3 separate regions of the Homo sapiens genome follow, and regions 1 and 3 are each linked to region 2. Evidence: promoter capture Hi-C in 16 types of primary human blood cells and fetal thymus (Javierre and others, 2016). All regions are on one chromosome and are shown on one strand. Each heading gives the region's core, a stretch centred on a gene start or on the middle of the fragment in contact. The rest is flanking DNA. Distances are from core to core; before and after follow the strand shown. Region 1 has its middle 52 kb from the start of ANKRD46. Region 2 holds the start of FBXO43 (F-box protein 43). Region 3 overlaps SNX31 (sorting nexin 31).

What was found. The method cuts DNA at HindIII sites, captures the fragments that hold promoters and counts their contacts. A CHiCAGO score of 5 or more calls a contact.
Region 1: a contact is called between a fragment that was not itself captured here and the fragment with the promoter of FBXO43 in region 2, in 8 of 17 cell types (naive B cells, total CD8 T cells, naive CD8 T cells and 5 more). The highest score is 8.0, in naive B cells.
Region 3: a fragment that was not itself captured here is called in contact with the fragment with the promoter of FBXO43 in region 2 in 16 of 17 cell types (naive B cells, total B cells, M2 macrophages and 13 more); the score reaches 9.7 in naive B cells.

Annotation. Positions count from the first base shown.
Region 1 is chr8:100,506,143-100,510,077 of GRCh38, forward strand. It overlaps a transcript of ANKRD46 not described here. Among named protein-coding and RNA genes, the nearest start is that of ANKRD46, 52 kb to the right of the region's middle. RefSeq lists an enhancer at 3,885-3,935. The HindIII fragment of the contact is 182 bases long and covers 1,788-1,969 here.
Region 2 is chr8:100,144,196-100,147,660 of GRCh38, forward strand. It overlaps FBXO43 (F-box protein 43), which reads right to left and starts at 1,622. Exons shown (of 5, transcript NM_001029860.4): 1 at 856-1,622. The coding sequence starts at 940. RefSeq lists an enhancer at 85-234 and a silencer at 1,346-1,805. The HindIII fragment of the contact is 15,929 bases long and covers 1-3,465 here.
Region 3 is chr8:100,573,395-100,577,357 of GRCh38, forward strand. SNX31 (sorting nexin 31) reads right to left here. Exons shown (of 14, transcript NM_152628.4): 13 at 3,625-3,681; 14 at 1-566. The coding sequence ends at 471. Among named protein-coding and RNA genes, the nearest start is that of ANKRD46, 16 kb to the left of the region's middle. The HindIII fragment of the contact is 3,224 bases long and covers 721-3,944 here.

The sequences.
Region 1 (3,935 bases), core at 629-3,128, 360 kb after region 2:
TTCAAAATACATCCACAATCCATTGATCTTTCGGCATCTTCACTGCTACTACATTCAAAATCACATAGCAATTCTTCATTTTTCCCAAAATTAAAGCCAGTGCCCTGGCAATGGTCTGCAAGGCCCTAAATGATCTGCTTTCTCCTTCCCGACACCTTAGCTCTGTGAGTTCAGCTCCCAACACTCTCGCCCTTGCCCAATCTTCTCCAGATATTCAGGTCTTTTTGTAGTTTCCCCATCATGTCAGGTGTGCTCCCGCCCACCTGAGAGCCTCTGCTCTACCTGTTCTCTCTGTTTGGGGTACTCTCCTGGCCAACTCGCTCACTTCCTTCAACTCTGTGCATTCAGACTTCTCAAATCTCACCTTCACAATGAGGCCAGCTCTGACCGCAGAATTTAATGTAACCTGCCCCACTCCCAGCACTTCTTATTTCCTTACCTTGTTTTATTTTTCCTTTGTTTTCAGAGCACTCACCACTTTCCAGTACAGTATATTATTCAACCTGCTTGTTTATTTTGTTTACTTTTCATTGTCTATCTACTCAAAGGCAGGAAACTGCTTTGTTCACGGCTGTATCCCAAGTCCTAGAGTAGTGCCTGGCCCGTAGTAGCTGCCCAGTAGGTACTTGTTGAATGAAGTAATAAAGTTTCACCAGCAAGAGCAAACTTCCTACCTCTGGCCTATCAGCCCAGGTCTGAGCAGACTGATCCAGGAGACGACAGAGAAAAGGTGGATCTGGAGGGATCCTGCCCTGTCCCAGGATTGGGAGAATTGAGAGAGGCTCCGGATTCTTCTTCATTGTCTTTGGTTGTGCCTCGTGACCTCAGACAGACCTGGGCCTCTGGTTCGCTAGGCTGCAGCTGTGTGCTCAGAGCCACTGCCCACCGCTTAACGTCATAGTTCTCAGGGGACCTTCCAGGAATACTCAGAGGACATATGTCTGTGACTGCACTGTCCAGGGTACCAGCCACTGGCCATGTGGCTACTGAGTACTTATTTGGCCAGTCCCAAATGAGATGTGTTGAAACTGTAAAATTTCAAAGACTTAGTACAAAAAGGAATGTAAAATATCTCATTAATAATTTTAAATATTGATTACATGTCAATACTATTTTGGATATATTGAGTTAAATAAAATATATGATTAAAATGAAGTTCACTTCTTTCTTTCTTTTCTTTCTTCTTTCCTTTCTTTCTTTTTCTTCTTTTCTTTTCTTTTTTCTTTTTGGATACAGGGTCTCACTCTGTCACCCAGGCTGGAGTGTGGTGGTGGGATCATGGCTCACTGCAGCCTCGACCTCCTGAGCTTAAGCAATCCTCCCACTTCAACCTCCCAAGTAGCTGGGACCACAGGTTTGTGCCACCACACCTGGCCAAATTTTTGATATTTTGTAGAGATTGGTGGGGGGGTTTCAATATGTTGCCCAGGCTGGTCTCGAATTCTTAGGCTCAAACATTTCTCCCTCCTAGGCCTCCGAAAGTGCTGGGATTACAGGCATGAGCCACCATGCCCAGCCGCTTGTATCTTATTACTCTTTTAATGTGACTACTTGAAAATTTAAAATTATATAAGTGGCTTGCATTATATTGCTACAGAATGGTTCTGGTGTATGAGGAAAAACAACTCACATCTAGAAATCAAATCCCAAGACCCTGAAAATCCACATTTCCTAAATCCAAACTGATGGCTCCTTTATTTCAAATAATACTGAGATACAGTGAAATTTCATTAAGATAAAAGCCACTTCAGAATATGACTAATTCAGTTAATGAGGATTTCTTTAAAAGCTTTGGCTTTGTATCCTTATATCATCTTGTGATGCTTTGCCTGAGGGGCAGAAAGCCCTCACAAAACATTCATAGTCTCCTCCATTTGTTCCTCAGACATTTATTGAACTCCTACAGTATGCCAGGAGCTGGGTGAGGAGTGGGGGATTCAACAAGGCTGGCTCCAGCCTCCCTTCCCTAAGCTTCCCTCATAACATTGCACACGTGTTGGGTCGCCCACTGAGGTTCATGTGGGCAGCCACGGAATCGGGGGCTGGGTGCCTGATCGGACCTGGGCCAGCGTCAGTACAGGCCTGGAAGAGGAGCTCAGGAGCTTGGGCCCTGAGCTTAGGCCTGTGGGCGGGCTGCTGGCGTCCGGCAGGGTATTCTAGACCAAAGACTTGCAGGGTGAAGAGGTCTGCAGTATGCCACAGGACCATGTGGAGTATTTTGAGCTGAAGACATTTGAGAATCAACAGCTGCAGGAAGAGGCTCTTCCTGAACTCCCCTTATCTTCCTAAATGCAAAGCCTCCCCAAAGAATTCAACTATTATAAATCCTTTCCCGGGAATTTCACAAGAAGAGAAGATTGACTCTTATCATTGAAGAGAAGTCAACACAAGGCATCACCTGGATAAGAAATTGCCTGAACGGATATTGTTACAAAACTATCCCCACAGTTCATGGGGACAATACATACTTCCCGTGGACTCACCTAAGAAGCTATTTATTTTTCCTAAGTTGTTTGGTCATGTAGAAGTTCCCCTCTGCATCTGCCCACTCCCTGTTAAGATGGCATATAAGCCCCAGATTCTAACCTCCTCCTGGAGTCAGCTTTTGTGTGTGTGTGAACTCTCATGTACACACAAATTTGAACAATAATATGTTCTCTTTTTTTTGGAGGCAGGGTCTCACTGTCCTCCAGGCTAAAGTGTAGTGGCATGATCAGGGCTCACTGCAGCCTCGAACTCCTGGGCTTAAGTGATCCTCCTGCCTCAGCCTCCAGAGTCACTGGGATCAGAGGCATAAGCCACACCATGCCTGGTTTTTTCTTTTGCTAATCTGTCTTTTGTCAGTTTAATGTACAGGCCCCTAAATACTGAATGTAAGAGCACAGAAGAAAAGTTTTCCTCCCCAGCAATGGTCATGCACTGACACTGCACATGCTGCTCAGAGATCCGTGTGCTTTGTAGGCTAAGGGAAGGAGGCTTTGTGTTCTCAGTACTAAACGCAAGGGGTGCATTGACCCTGGGAACTGTTTTGGGGATGGATATAAGAGGCTGTGGGAGAGTTTCAGGAAAGATGAGTCTGAGAGCCTGGGGAATGCCGTAGAGCTGTGACTTCCTAGAGGCCAGGCCCGGGGGAGAAGGGTGCCCTAACAAAGCTAGGAGTCACAGGGGAGCAGGGAAGACAGAAAGGGGCTCAGTGGCCAACAGGACCTGGCACCAGGAAGACATGTAATGAAAGGAGGGGTGGTCTAGAGAGACTTTCTCCTATCTTCCAAGATTCTGTTATCTTGCCATATTGTTTTTATGGGATTAAAAAAATAAAGTGGGAGAATCCAGGGAGCAACATCTCTAGAAAAGTTGCCCCTGGATCTAAGCTCTCTGGCCCTGGTCTTTCCCAGCAGGGATGATTCCTTCCTGACTTGGGGCTGAAGATCTGGACTGGGAATTATATGCTAAGTTTCTCATGAAAAGAGCAATAAAATTTACCCTCTGTTTCTGCCTCTTTCTCACTGTGCCAAATGTAAAGAAAAAAGAAAAGAATAAGAAAAGCAAAAAGGATTCACTAGAGATTGCAGGGCTAGAAAGGGAATAAGAAATGAAAACAACAAAATGTTATTTTAAATTTGCTTTAACAGCAGCTCAGAGATGCAGGTCAACCATTTACGAGAGGGAAGTGCCTGATACTTCAGGGATGGACTCTGGGCAGGAGACAATTTAGGATGAGAACCAGGGAAAACACATCCCCTGCCAACTTGCCACTGGGTCACGGAGAGTCTCCTTGGGGAAGGGGGGTTGCTTGAGATCTTGCCAGAGCCATGCACACATCTATCTGCTGGCAGAAGCGGGCTGCCGGTGGCCATGGGTGGGAGTGAAGGGGCTCAGCCTTAGGGGCGGGAAGTCTTTTCTTCCACCCAAATCCATTGTCTGAGTGTGAAAGT
Region 2 (3,465 bases), core at 372-2,871:
TTATCTCTTTCCTCTAAAATGTTATCCAAAAATCTATTCTGGCCGGTGGCTCACGCCTGTAATCCCAGCACTTTAGGAGGCCGCGGCGGGAGAAATGCTTGAGTCCAGGAGTTTAAGACCAGCCTGGGTAACATAGTGAGACCCCATCTCTTAAAAAAAAAATTGTTTCTGTTCATCTACACACTTGAAGTTGCCTCCAACGTCCTTTCTCTGCTAGCATTTTCATCTTTCTACTACCCCAAGACGTTGGTCTCAAACGTGGTTCTTCGCAACTGAATTTTAAAATTATTCATGTAAAATCATGGACTGTCTGTTGTATTTTATGGACTCAACAGTTCACGGATAAATCAATCAAGCCTCTTCGATATTCATTTTTAAAAACTAGGCTTCTGATAAAAGGCTGAGAAAACTTATTCCTAAAGTGTTCTTTAAGAAAAAAAAAAAAAAAAGCAGCGGCCGGGCGCGGTGGCTCACGCCCGTAATCCCAGCACTTTGGGAGGCCGGGGCGGGCGGATCACGAGGTCAGGAGAGCGAGACCAACCTGGCTAACACGGTGAAACCCCGTCTCCACTAAAAATACAAAAAAATTATCCGGGCGTGGTGGCGGGCGCCTGTAGTCCCAGCTACTCGGGAGGCTGAGGCAGGAGAATGGCGTGAACCCGGGAGGTGGAGCTTGCAGTGAGCCGAGATCGCGCCACTGCACTCCAGCCTGGGCGACAGAGCGACTCCGTCTCAAAAAAAAAAAAAGAAAGAAAAAAGAAAAAGAAAAAAAAGAAAAAGCACCTACCACATCAGAGAATGAAGTACTTACATTAAACCCAAATGTTCTTCATTTGTTAAAGTGGAAACTCTTACCATCAGTAAATCTTGAGCTCTTAGATGTCAAAGTTACGTAGGCTTCCAAACAAGAAATTCTCTCATCTTTGTCTTTAAAACTCATGCCAAAATAATGCCACTTAAAGAGGAAAACTTTAGTTTGCACAATTAATTGAAAGGTGCAGCAGCATCATGATTGCTCAAAGTCGAAGGGTACACAGGGTGCATGCCGCAGGGATTATTCCTAACACTTGAGAAGGTCTAAATCATTTTGAATTTCCTTCAGCCCTCCAGAAAATAGTTATCTTAATATCCTTGTTTTCTCCAGCTGGACTTAGACATGAGTAAACTTCCCAAATTCGGGTTCCTGAAAAGGCAGCGTGTGCTGCAGCCTGGCACTGACTCCCCCGAGGAGCTATGGCGGGCGGGTGGGTAACGGTCTCACCAGGGCGTCAAAGATCCGCTAGGCCCAGAAAGCCAAGGGCAGCAGGGGATGGGCTGGCGTCACCAGGAGCGGAGGAGTGAGGGCTGCCGCGCGCCTCCCTAGGCCCAGCACCTGGAAGACACAGGGCGACGCGGGGCCGGGCCGCCGGGAGACCCGCTAACGGGCACTCGCCTGGGGTCCCGCCGCCTGCCTGGAGGCCGCGGGGCCGGGCGAGGCGCCGAAGCGGACAGGTGGGAGAGGAGCCGGGCAGCAGCCGCTGGATGGGCCGGGGAGAAGCCTCGGCCTCGCCCCCTGGGATGCGGGCTATGGCAACCCCCACGCCAGCTTCGCGTGGGGCCGCTGCCTTTACCTCCTTAGGTTTGAACGGCCCGCCCGGGGTAACCGCTAAGCGCAGCCCCGCCCCGCGCCGCGCTGTCCCGCCCCTTCCTCCGGCTCTGCAGCGCTCCCGCCCGGCCGCCCGCAGGCCTGGGTCCTCGCTTGAGCGGGAGGAGCGCCCCCTCTCTCGCTCACCCCTGCACCCGTCCCGAGGCGGGTCAGAAAGGCTCTGCTTCTCCCCATTCCCACTTTGGGAAGCATTACCGTATTTAGGAATGCTAACGTGGCCTACAGTGGGATGCCATTAGAAATCATGTATGAGAATGTTCCCTTGGAAATGATTCTCCAAACTGTCAAGTGCAAAAAGCAAGTTACAAACTGACCCCTTTTAGGTTAAAAATATGGATATACACAGGATGAGGTCTGAAAGGTATGAATAACTTGGATACGGTAAATTTGTACAGGATTATGTTTGCTTTTTAGTTCTTTTTATCTGTGTTTTCTTCTCATGTTTCAACAATGAATATATACAGATTTTGTGATAAAAAAGCTGAGCCGGGCCTGGTGGCTCACATCTGTAATCCCAGCACAGAGGTGGGAGGATCACTTGAGCCAAGGAATTTGAGACCAGCCTGGGCAACATAGTGAGACCCCCATCTCAAAAAAAAGATTTTTAAAAAATCTATTCATAAAAACCAGAGTGAAATGTGTTCATTGTTTACAAACATCCATTTTTGGGCATCATGAACTCCCAAGTACCCTCAAAGCCAAATAAATTTTTTAAACCCTAATTTTTTCATTCAATAAATATTTACTGGGCGTCTATTATATGCCAGGGACACTCCTGCTGCTCTTGGCAGCTTCTTCCTAGTCTCCTTTTTCTGGCTTCTTTTCCTTGGCCTACTCCCTAAATGAGAGGTCCTACCTCAGCATTTTTATTAGTTTATCATCCCATGCTTATGTAATTCTTATTCAGAACTTCAACCATCACTTTTAAGCCAATAACAGGCACTACCACCACTCTTCTCTGACTGGACATTTCTCCAACTGGATGTCCCTCAGTCATCCAAAACCAAACTCACTAAAATTATTATGAGACAGGGTCTCGCTCTGTCACGCACGCTGGAGTGCCGTGGTGCAATCTTGGCTCACTGCAACCTCCACCTCCCAGGTTCAAACGATTCTCCTGCCTCAGCCTCCCGAGTAGCTGGGATGACAGGCACCCGCCACCACGCCTAGCTAATTTTTGTATTTTCAGTAGAGACGGAGTTTTGCCAGGTTGGCCAGGCTGGTCTCGAACTCCTGACCTCAGGTGATCCACCTGCCTCAGCCTCCCAAAGTGCTGAGATTACAGGCATGAGCCACTGTGCCCGTCCACTAACAGTTATTAAATTCCAACTATGTGCCAATTACTGTGCTAGGTACTGGGAATACAGAGCTGACACAGCCACAGTTACTGCTGTTAAGGAGCTCATTGGTATAGAGCAAGTGCTGTAACAGAGGAACAGTAGCAGCACAAAGGAAAGAAGAACCAGCTAACTCTACTGGAGAACAGAGTGCATGAGATAGATTTTGATGTACAAGTGGCAATTTAAAAGGCAGACAGCAGGAAATTCCAAACTTAAAATGTATAAGGGCAGGAAAATTTCAAACTCAAAACAAAATGTGCAAGAGCAGTTGGGCACATGGAGAAGCTGCAAATAATTTGTTATAGGCAGAAACTAAGAGTTGTTAGAGGAAAGGATTAGAGAAAATTCCTGAGAAGTGAAGAAGCTAAGTCTTGGGAAGTTCTGGTTGCACCTTCAGAGTTTGAAGAGCATTTTAGAAAGTCCACTCTGGTGGCAGAATGGAGGACAGAATGAAGAGAGGCAAGGGTGGCTGCTAGGAGA
Region 3 (3,963 bases), core at 1,083-3,582, 430 kb after region 2:
AGCCCTATTCTCCTCCGTTGAAGAGTCACATCTTTAGAAATCGATCCAAAATATCTTTATGATATTTTATGAGACTTTCATTTATGTAAATTCAAAACACATAAAAGACTTCATGAAGCCATATAAAGATCTATTTTAGAGAAAAAATAGAATGAGTTTTATATGAGTTGATTTGAATTTGCCACTTGTCATTTATGAGACATTAAAAACAAACTCTATACTGTCATGACGAAGTGCAAAAATAAAATAAAAACTAACTCTATAACTTGGTTCTTTTTTTTTTTCTAATCTTGAGATTTCCATAGAGTGCTGTGGTATAATACCTTGATGAATACAGTCCATGTTAATGCCAAAAAAATGGGAAGAGGTCAAATTTCCTCCACTGATGGTAGGTAGCCCACCTGAATCCCCAAGTTCTTTCACTGTCTTGAGATAGCCTCCAAGGATATTTTAAAATATGAGAGCTTTCTTCAGAGATCTTCTTCCTTTATGTTCCCAAAAACGCAGTCATCTTTAGCTATCTTAATCTTGCTTTTTCTTGATAGAAAACTAGAATAGTCTTTCTGCTGTGAAGTAAACAGAGAGGTCAGAAATGTAAATGAAAGGAAATCATTTCCATAACAATAACAAAGTCACAGAGGTTAAAACAGTATTGAAAGGGCAACAGAAAGCTTACATTTGTATAAGCAATGGTTATTTTAAACAGTTTTATTCTGTAGAAGCTTTATTTTGGGGTGAGTGTAAATACACTCGTTAGGACTGAGAAGAGCACCGCCTACTGGTTTTATGTGTCCTCTGCATCTTTCAGGGCCCTGGGATATCACCCAGGTTAACATTTAACTCTACCTGTCTTGCCTCTTTCCCCTCTTAAAGCCATGCGACTTTCAATTTTTAACTTTGCCCAAAATCTTTAGTGCACATTCCACACAAATACAAACTTTAAAAAAGAGGCTGGGCGGCCAGGCGCAGTGGCTCATGCCTGTAATCCCAACACTTTGGGAGGCCAAGGCGGGCAGATCACGAGTTCAGGAGATCAAGACCACCCTGGCCAACGTGGTGAAACCCCATCTCTAATAAAATACAAAAAAATTAGCTAGGCATGGTGGCTGGCGCCTGTGGTCCGAGCTATTCGGGAGGCTGAGGCAGGGGAATCACTTGAACCCTGGAGGCAGAGGTTTCAGTGAGCCAAGATTGTGCCACTGCACTTCAGCCTGGCAACAGAGTGAGACTCCGTCTAAAAAAAAAAAAAAAAAGAAGAGGCCGTGTACAGTGGCTCACGCCTGTAATCCCAGCACGTTGGGAGGCTGAGGTGGTGGATCACTTGAGGCCAGGAGTACGAGACCAGCCTGGCCAGCATGGTGAAACCCCATCTCTACCAAAACTACAAAAACTAGCCGGATGTGGTGGTGCACACCTGTAATCCCAGCTACTCAGGAGGCTGAGGCAGGAGGATCGCTTGAACCTGGGAGGTGGAGGTTGCAATGAGCCGAGATGGCACCACCGCACTCCAGCCTGGGCAAGGGAGCGAGACTCTGTCTCATTAGAAAAAAAAAGTGTTATGCTTATTTTAAAACATTTTAGAGGTTAGGGTTACCGCAAATCTTTAAAGAGTAATTTGCCTTCAGTACTTATGAAATCTCAAAGACACGGTTATGGAAAGTGGAAAGTGAAAAAAAAAATGTGGAGCCCCTCAGTGGGCAGATGGGCTACAACTTTTTTTCTACGAGGGATTTGTTTTGATAGAGGGGCCTCACTGCCAAGTGGTTAAAGCAACAAACTAATTTTATTTGTTAAACAACAAATAAAGACTGCTTGGGTTCAAATACTGGCTCTGATATTAACTGACTGTGTGACCTTGAGCAAGTGACTTAACCTTTCTGTGTTTCAGTTCTCTGTGCAGTAAGCCAAGGATAATAACAGTGCTTTGGTTGTTTATTGGGATTAAACGAGTTATACATAAAAAGTAATTATAGCAGTTCATGGCTCAGGATAAGGTCTATACAACAGTTTGCAAAATAAATTAAAACTCAATATAGTTGGACACTAGGTCTCTTTCCGACCTGCTGGTCCTACTCACAGCATGAGATAGGTTGGCCTGTATTAGAGTTACCACTCATCCGAGAGGACAACTGAACTGATCACAGTTGTGCTGAGTGTTATCTGTTGTCCTAGGACAGTGGCTCTCAAACTTGAACATGCATCAGATTTGTCTGGTGGGCGTGTTAAAGAGATTGCTGCGGCCTTCCCCCAGAGCTGCTGATCCAGTAGGTTTGGGGCCTGAGAATTTGAATTTCTAATAAGATCCACGTGATACAGATGCTGTTGGTCCAGGGACCACACACTGAGAACTGGTGTTCTAGGATAATGGTTCCAATTCTGGTTGTATAATAGGACCACTTGGGGAGCTTTTAAAAATTCCATTGCCCAGGCCCCTCAGACCAATTAAATCCAAATTTCTGAGGGTGGGGCTCAAGCATTAGTTTTTAGAGCTCCCCAGGTGATTCCAATGTGCAGCCAAAGTTGAGAACCACAGCTCCATGCTGTCGGCATGCTGCTAAAATGGGTGCATTAAAATGATGAAGTGATTGCCATCTACATTTTACAGACAAAGATATGGAAGTGCAGTATCAGAGTCCCTAATGAAGTTAGGTTTTGGATCTGCCTAATGACACATAGCCAGTAAGCAGTGGAGTTCCTATCTCGTCTCTCTGTCCAACCAGCCAGAAGTGCTGTGATTATGAAGGAGAATGCTTTTATGCATTTCTGCTAGTTTATTTTCCCTGACTGTATTCATTCAAGAAAGGACTTTATATACTTACATATTTATAAATACTGTACATATATACTAAGGATGTTTACATACACACCAGTTCTGTGACAGGTGCTGGATCAAGAAGAAATCCCATTCAAATGCTACTTAGAAGTCACTTTTCTTTCATTCACCTACACTAGGATTTGGACTTAGAAAGGAAGAGTTAGCAAGGGCACAGTTAGTTAAGGGCATAGTTCCAGGGTCAGACTGCCTGCTTCTTTCCATCTTTGACTGCTGTGCAACCTTGGGCAGGTCACAAAACCTCTCTGTGCACTAATTTCCTCAACTTATTTATAGGGCTGTGAAGGAATGTGTTAATTCACATAAAAGTGCTTAGAATACTGCCTGGCAATAATGAGTGCTCAAAAATGTCATTGATTGTGATTTTTTCTATTATTATCTGCACAGCAGATCTAAATGCTCAAAAAGTATTTTGTAAACTTAAAAGTTGCTTTATACAGAGTATACTGCAGAAAACTATGAGACCAAAATATACTAGATATGTAACATATACAAATTAGAAAGAGAGTTGCCTCCAAAAAGTGCAAGGGGTGTACAAAAAAATCACCAAATAATTTTGTGTTTCTCTTGGAAATTTTCTATGTAAAAATTCTTGGTAGTGCTATGGGGTGCTACAATAAAAATACTATACTTCTGTGATGGCCTTCCAATTGGCCCAATCTACAAAGAGGAGCTTCTGAGAAACATAATTCTGACTTATTATTGAAAGTGAGATGACTTTGGTTAAAGAGGAAAAAAGATCAGATTTATCAAAATTATAATGTACCAATTACATAATTTTACTCACAGACCTGGCTTTGTTGAATGTGGTATTTTTTACTTTTGCTTTGTTCCGGAACTTCAATCTGCTAGATAGATTAGTGAAATGTCAGTCAGCTCAGCCCAGAGAAGCAAGCACACAAACAATCTATTTAACTAGCACACTTTCCCTTCCACGATAATCCTCTTAATCGTCCCAAAGGCTGCCGGTCAGCAGGTACACCTGCTTGTCATCTGTGCATTCCTCTTTCACTTGTCAGGGTCTAAATGTTACAGAAATAGAGTCCCCAAAAGTTAAGTAAAACTTAATGTTTCACATTAGTGGTTGCCTATGGATTTTGTGATTGAAGAAAGCTTTTAAAAGAACATCA